2 separate regions of the Homo sapiens genome follow, and region 2 is linked to region 1. The links are contacts of gene promoters, found by promoter capture Hi-C in blood cells and fetal thymus (Javierre and others, 2016). All regions are on one chromosome and are shown on one strand. The core of a region is centred on a gene start or on the middle of the fragment in contact, and the rest is flanking DNA. Distances in the headings are between cores, read along the strand shown. Region 1 holds the start of RXYLT1 (ribitol xylosyltransferase 1). Region 2 holds the start of HELB (DNA helicase B).

Region 1 (3,536 bases), core at 495-2,994:
TAATATATTCCTTCGCTGATACAATGAACATTGTCATATTAAAGGCTCTTGAGAAAGGCCTGCAATGAAGAACCTTGTTTAACTTTGTACTCTTCAGTGTTTCCCAAATGTGTTTGGCCATCAAGGGCAGGGGCCACATCTTATACTTGTGTATCAAGTGTCCAAAAAATACACAGATTCATGAAAATTCAGTTGACATATGCATTGCAATCTAATGACACTATACAGCCTACTCAATGTATCAATAAATGAAGCTGTGCTCTGCTAAAGACCAACAGTGGAATATGTATGTGTGTACATTTACAAACAGATGTTGTCTAATTGGAAGGAGAAAGGAATTATTGACAAAAAGCGAAAAAATATATCATGATGCCTTAATTAACAAATTATGAAATAAATTATATTAAAATGAATTTCATATCAATAAAATACATTTTATAATGCTTTTTACATGTCTTCCTTCTACGTATTAACTTACCAATGGCAGCTTTGCCCCAGATTTGTACACTGAGATCTGTTTTTCCTTTCGTGGATTTATCTAATATTTGAAGGCTAGTTTTAAATCTGTGTTGTTGCTCATTTTTTTCATCTCCTTCCCAAGGATTCCATTCTTCACTTTCCAAAGTGGACTGTTCTGTTTTAAAAAGAGTAAGTGTTTACCAGTAAGGTATTATTGCAGTTGTAGGTAAATTCAAATCATTTAAATTAAGTGTTAGTTCTAATTTCATCCTAACTTTAATTTCTGAGAGGTACAGCAACTGAATTTAAACTGGTAATACACAATGAAAACAAAAAAGAAAATCAGCAATTTTTTTACTGAACTTTTTTTACTCTGAAAAGTCTTAGAAATAAAATGCTACCTTGAGACAGGAAAATTCTCTTCCCCAACACAAAACCTTTAAAAATAACAGGATAATATGTATCAAGTTACAAGCTTAACTTTTGCAATTATTTTTATCCATTGTATACAGGTAACCTATGCACAAAAAACTGACTTCAGAGTGTAGTGTTCACCAGTCTTAGATACTATCGTGCAAAATTCTGAATAAAGGGAAAGAGAAAGCCGAGTCTGATCTTAACACAAGTTAAAACACAGGACAGGGGACCAGAATTTGGAGGTAAAGTCTGCCTTATGGTCACTGCAGGATTAGAGAGGGCTTTGTTTCAACATGGAAACGGATGTCTTAAACCTTGCGGCGATTTTGAGGCCTTCCAGGAGCATTCCCGCAAATCTCTGGCATTTGAGACGACGTCTTGGATTTTAACACGTGTTTGAAAGGCGTGCGCGCCTGTCACCCCCTGGGATCGGGAGCGGGGACGGCGTGTGAGATCTGGGTAAGAATGAGGACCATTCTCCAATTCCGAGCCAAGGGCTGGCTCGAGAGGCTGTAGGGGGCAAAGCGCTTCTCAGGCCCTGCGGGTAATCCCGGACTTGAGAGCCGGGTGCGGGGACCCGGCCCCAGCCGCCCAGCAGCCCCAGCCAGGAGCGCAGAGCCGGAAGGAAGCCGCCGACCCAGTCCTACCTCGGCCGCGTCTCTCCCGCGCGGGGGCCGCCCCCTTCCTGAGGCCCCGCGGGGACCCGGCCGGCGCCTGGCGGCGGCGCCCGAAGAAGACGTGGTAGGCAGCGTAGAGGGAGAATAGGCAGTACAGGGCGATAAGAAACGAGCAGAGCCGCTTCCGCGTCAGCCGCATCCCACTCGGGCTTCCAGTCAGGCATCCACCGCCATGGAGCGGGCGGAAAGAGAATCCGCGACACCGGCGGCGTCCGAGGCAGGCCCAGCCCGTTTCCAGGCAGTCCCCAGCCAAGGCTCCTCCGCCCAGCGCCCGGTACAGCCCCGCCCCGGACACGCCCACCGCCCGCCTCCCGCCCAGGCCCCGCCCCCTCCAGTCGCGGCTCATCCACCCGGCCGAGGGCCTGCCCACCTTCGACACTGGAGGAGGGGGTACTGGAGCGGCCCCTACCCCACGCTGCTTCCAGACGCCGGGCTGAGTGGGAACCTCTCTGACCTCTGCCGTGTACTCATTGCACCTTTCAACCCTGGCCACTTTTCCCAAGTACATAAAGACTCGGGGGAAAAAGAACACCCGCGGTGGTCCATGAAGGCCATGTGAAGGCATGGACTGTGACGTTTTTTGCTCTGCATGGAATCCCTAGCGCCTAGGACAGTGCCTACTACGTTGATAGATGAGTGAATATAAACGTCCTTTAAAAAAATTAAGTGATGATGGTCGCTTAACATTGTGAATGTAATTAATACCACTCACTTGTATGCATAGAAATAGTTAAACTGTCGAATTCATGTTTTATATACCTTACTGCAATAAAAACATTTTTAAAGTTAAGTTTCATTATTATGTGAGTTGAACGCACATAGGCATGCAGTATTTTGTCAAATAGAGGCTGTAAATGTGAATGCTTCAGAAAACTTTGTATCCAGCCTTGGGAAGATGGGCTACAATGTTTTGTCAGTTGCTCTGGTACTACTGTTCAAATTACCCAGCAGTCTTGCGACGGTATGTCTGCTAATTAGGGTGACCAATGGTCCCAGTTTGCCCAGGACTGTAAGGATTCTCCAGTTGGAGGATTTTTAGTGCTAAAATTGAGAAAGTCCTAGGAAATCAGTAAAATTGGTCACTCTAGCACCGACCCTAAACTATTAGGTCAAACACTTTACCCAATCCCCCAAACAGTTCCCTGCCTCAAAAGACCTGTTTTAAACCATTTTTGCTCAGACTCCCCAAATCCTATAAATATCACCCCCAACCTTCTCCTTCTGAGACTGCCAAGCTTCTGTCAAAGTGTGGCCTCCCTTACTGTAGTAGATTTAATAAATTTAGCTTTCCTTGATTAACAGGCTATTCTGGTGTCTTAGGGAGATGGCAGTTGTTTTATGTATGCTGTATTGTTGTTTATCCTATTTTGTTTGTTTGTGGAAATGACAATTATTTAAGGATAGGAAGTAATTACCTTATAATTACCACAAAACACCCACTGTATCAATGTACATTCAGATGCTACTGACTAATGGTTTTACTATTGAGAAATGCATACAAGGTAAAACTAATATGCAGTTGATGTCATCTTGAATAGGGGAGAGGGCCATGAAAATGAAGGAGTTGTTTTACCTCAAACTGCAAATGACTGCATAATTTGATGATAAGCTTTTAAAAATGTATTTAGGTTACAAAGGAATCTTCTAATTGATCTAAGTCTGGCAGAGTTCATTTTCCTTTCTCTTGGTGTTTAATGGTTGAGCTACAGCTGGGAGCTACTTTCTGTATATGCTCTCATCTCTTCAGGTGGATGGAAAGAGAGGGAAAGAGATGTGGTGGGGAATGCAGCAGTGTGGAGGGGGAGACAAGGTTAAATATCCTCTGGGGGTTGAAGCTCCGCATATAGGGAACCAGACCTGAGAAGGAAAGATGTGGGAGGAAGAATAGAAATAAAGGAATATGAGATGAATTAAACTAAAGCAGGGCTAAAATCTTTACTTGGTGAAATTTTCTACTCTGTCTGCAAAGGGAAGAACTATTAA
Region 2 (3,536 bases), core at 1,037-3,536, 2.5 Mb before region 1:
ATATCCAGATAACAAATCATATTAAAAATTACTTGAAACCATTTTGGACTGAAGTATTTCCTAAATGTATTATTCACATCCTTGTCGTTCTTCTCTACCTCTTTAAACAGAATCATTTACAACTGATTTTTTTTTTTTTTTAACTGAGACGGTGTCTCACTCTCACCTAGGCTGGAGTACAGTGGTGCAATCATGGCTCACTGCAGCCTCCATTTCCTAGGCTCAAGTGATCCTCCTGCCTCATCCTCCCAAGTAGCTGGGACTACAGGTATATATCACCACACCTGGCTAATTTTTAAAAAATTTTTTGTAGAGACAAGGTCTCACTACATTGCTCAGGCTAGTCTCGATCTCCTGCGCTCAAGTGATCCTCCTGCCTCAGTCTCCCAAAGTGGGATTACAGACGTGAGCAGCTACCACACCTGGCCAGCAACTGAATTTTTTTTTATTAATGATTCAAGGTAATCGCTGTGAATACAAAAGTTAGAAAGAGAGATTAAAATCACAGTTTTAGAGGTGGAAAGGAACTGGAAGATTTTAAAGATCAGCTCATATAATCCCTTCATGCTACAGATGAGAAACCTGAAATGTCAATGGCATACTCCAAAAGCAACATAAACACATTTTTCACCAAATGGATTTTTAAAAAGAATACTATGCTAGTGGTAACATTTTAAACACTGTAGTTATTAAGTATGTCAATTACACTGAAAGTTGATGATAAAAATCACACTTACTTGTGTTTTCCAGAGGAAGACTCATCTCATTGTCTAGGAACAACTCTTCCTGACCATTCTGTGTAGGCTGCTTTTGATCTTTCCTTCCAGTTTCCTTGTGGAAAGTTCTTAGTGTTTCCCTAAGATTTTCAAAGTTTAGGTTTTTGTAGTTTGATACCTCCTTTACCCATGTTAAAAATTTATTAACATCATCACTGGAGACCTCACACTCTTTAAGAAAGAGAGCACAGATATGTTTTTGATTTGGTGGTGACATATCAGACTGCAAAAAGTAAGACGGAAATCCTTGAACTTGATATTGATAGCTCCTTGATCCCACCACAGGCTTTACTTGTACCTTCACTCTCCACCAAGCACCTGTTATCGGAAAACGTCCAAACACTTTACATGTCTCTTGTGTGTTTTCATCACAAATAGAAACTAAAAAAAAACAAACAAAAACCCACAAAAGTTAACTCTGGAGATTATTTAGAAACCGTTTCCTCAAAGTTTCATCAAACTTACCACTATCTTTAATCTCCCTACAGCACTCTCTAAAGATGTCTGGTAGGGTGCCTGTAACACTGCATTCTGCCTACCTCTTTTTCTGTCTCCCTCCACTACACTGTAAATACTAAAACAGGACACTGTTTCGTTTGTCTTTGTATTCCAAAACGCAAGCACAGTACACAGCAGGTGTCTGCTGTTCCTCTTCTAAAATCAGTCCCCTCTCTGCTACTCTTGACTTCAGCCAATACTGGCCTTCATGCAGTTTCTTTAAAATGCCATGGCCCTTCACTCAAGTTATTCCATCTGCCTTAACTGATCTCCCCTTTACTGTTTACTACATTTACTACAGACCTCAGCTTAACTATCACTTACTTAGAAAAGTCTTCCCTGAATCTCATGTATAAAACCTCTCAAAGCACTATTTAGCATTCCTTCTAAGCATTTAGTAACATTATAGTTACTTCTGTGATTAAAGAATGTTTGTTTAATACACTAGAGGGTAAGCTTCATTAAGACTGCAACCTTGTTATTTTATTTCTCTAGGTTTTCCCAGCACCAAACATGCTAGCCAGTTGATGATACTTTAGAATGACGACTAAGCCCTCCACAAATACTTGAAACTTTTCTGCCTAAATCTGCGCTGTCCACCCACGTGGCTATTTAAATTAAAATGTAATAAAACTTAAAATTTCTCTCCTCAGTTACACTAGCTGGATTTCAAGTTCTAAACAGCTACATATGGCTAGTGGCTATTATACCAGACAGTGCAGATATAAAACACTGCCATGATCATGGAAAGTTCTACTGAACAGCACCGGTCGGCACATTAAAATATTTTAAGTCTCAGTCACAAAGTATACATAACAGGTATAACTTATAGCACAGGAAACTACCTCATAGCACAGGAAACTACTTATACAAGGTTTACCCGAACCACAAGGTTACTAACACCAATTAACAATCATCTGTGCACTGAGGTGTTCCTTGTGTTTCGTTTTTCTTTTTCTTTTCTTTCCTTTTCGTTTTTTGAGATGGAGTTTCATTCTTGTTGCCCAGGCCGGAGTGCAATGGTGTGATCTCAGCTCACTGCAACCCCCACCTCCTGGGTTCAAGCAATTCTCCTGCCTCGGCCTCCCAAGTAGCTAGGATTACAGGTGTGCGACATCACGCCCGGCTAATTTTGTAGTTTTGTTGTTGTTGTTGTTGTTTTACTAGAGACAGGTTTCACCATGTTGGTCAGGCTGGTCTCGAACTCCTGACCTCAAGTGATCCACCTGCCTCGGCCTCCCAAAGTGCGTGAGCCACCGCGCCCGGACTGTTTTGTTTTTCCAAGAAGCTGAGGAAGAACCACGTATTTGACTCCAGGCAATATAGGATAATAATTACAAGTTCTCATTCTATAGAACTTGAGGATAAGTGGTCAGAAGGAAAAATAAAAGTTCCGATTCTGGGTGGAAATAGAGACTCAACATCCACTGTTTCCTTAAGCGTAAAACTACCTTACATTAAAGGTACATTAAATTAAAGGACGACCATTAAAATGAGAATAATTTTAAAAAAAAAAAAAAAAAAAAAGGGCAACCCGCTCGGGTCCCCTTCCACACTGTAGAAGCTTTGTTCTTTCGCTCTTTGCAATAAATCTTGCTGCTGCTCAAAAAAAGAAAAAAAAAAAAAAACCACATAGTATGTGTCCAGTTAAAGTCACTGCTATTATTATAGTCATAATTTTACCCTTGGTAGGATGAAGCAGCTAGACCACTGATAAGCTAAATCTGTTAGCACGACTGGGTGCCTTGCTCAGGGCAAAGCCAGAATGGGAAGCGCTACTTTGGACCCTCCAACCCCATCCCCCGGGCAGACGCCTTCCTCACCGCGGAGGCACCCGGGGAGGCTGCCAGCCTTTACGCCCCCACTGCAGAGCTCCTCGGCGTCGATGAACACGGACTCTTCATCCTCCTCCACGTCGTCGTTTAGGTAGTCGTCGTCCTCCTCCACCAGATCCCTGGGTGGGAGCAGAGGTCCCTGAAGTTGGCGCAGGTACGGACTCGACCTGGCCATGCTTCTCCTGAACTCAACCCAAACAACTCGGGAAAACCCTGGCTAACTGCATGGTCATGATCAGCCAATCAGTTCTACGACTGTAAGGCCATCAACTTCCGGGAACGGCCTGGCGGCCGCCAGCGTACATAAAACCTGAAAGGCAGCGAAGCTCCGCCCCAAGTTTCCAGGAATTGCCGAGGGGAGGGCATGTGGAAGGGGCGGGGCAAGGCGGGTTAGGGGCGGGGAAGGGAGAGCGAGGGGCTGGGAGAT

What was found. The method cuts DNA at HindIII sites, captures the fragments that hold promoters and counts their contacts. A CHiCAGO score of 5 or more calls a contact.
Region 2: a fragment that was not itself captured here is called in contact with the fragment with the promoter of RXYLT1 in region 1 in 2 of 17 cell types (total CD4 T cells and total B cells); the score reaches 7.0 in total CD4 T cells.

Annotation. Positions count from the first base shown.
Region 1 is chr12:63,778,117-63,781,652 of GRCh38, reverse strand. It overlaps RXYLT1 (ribitol xylosyltransferase 1), which reads right to left and starts at 1,744. Exons shown (of 6, transcript NM_014254.3): 1 at 1,524-1,744; 2 at 479-634. The coding sequence starts at 1,692. RefSeq lists silencers at 1,376-1,675, 1,404-1,679, 1,696-1,925. The HindIII fragment of the contact is 1,854 bases long and covers 937-2,790 here.
Region 2 is chr12:66,302,352-66,305,887 of GRCh38, reverse strand. It overlaps HELB (DNA helicase B), which reads right to left and starts at 3,395. Exons shown (of 13, transcript NM_001370285.1): 1 at 3,098-3,395; 2 at 738-1,157. The coding sequence starts at 3,284. RefSeq lists enhancers at 2,065-2,374, 2,405-2,504, 3,136-3,215, 3,276-3,325. The HindIII fragment of the contact is 1,108 bases long and covers 1,733-2,840 here.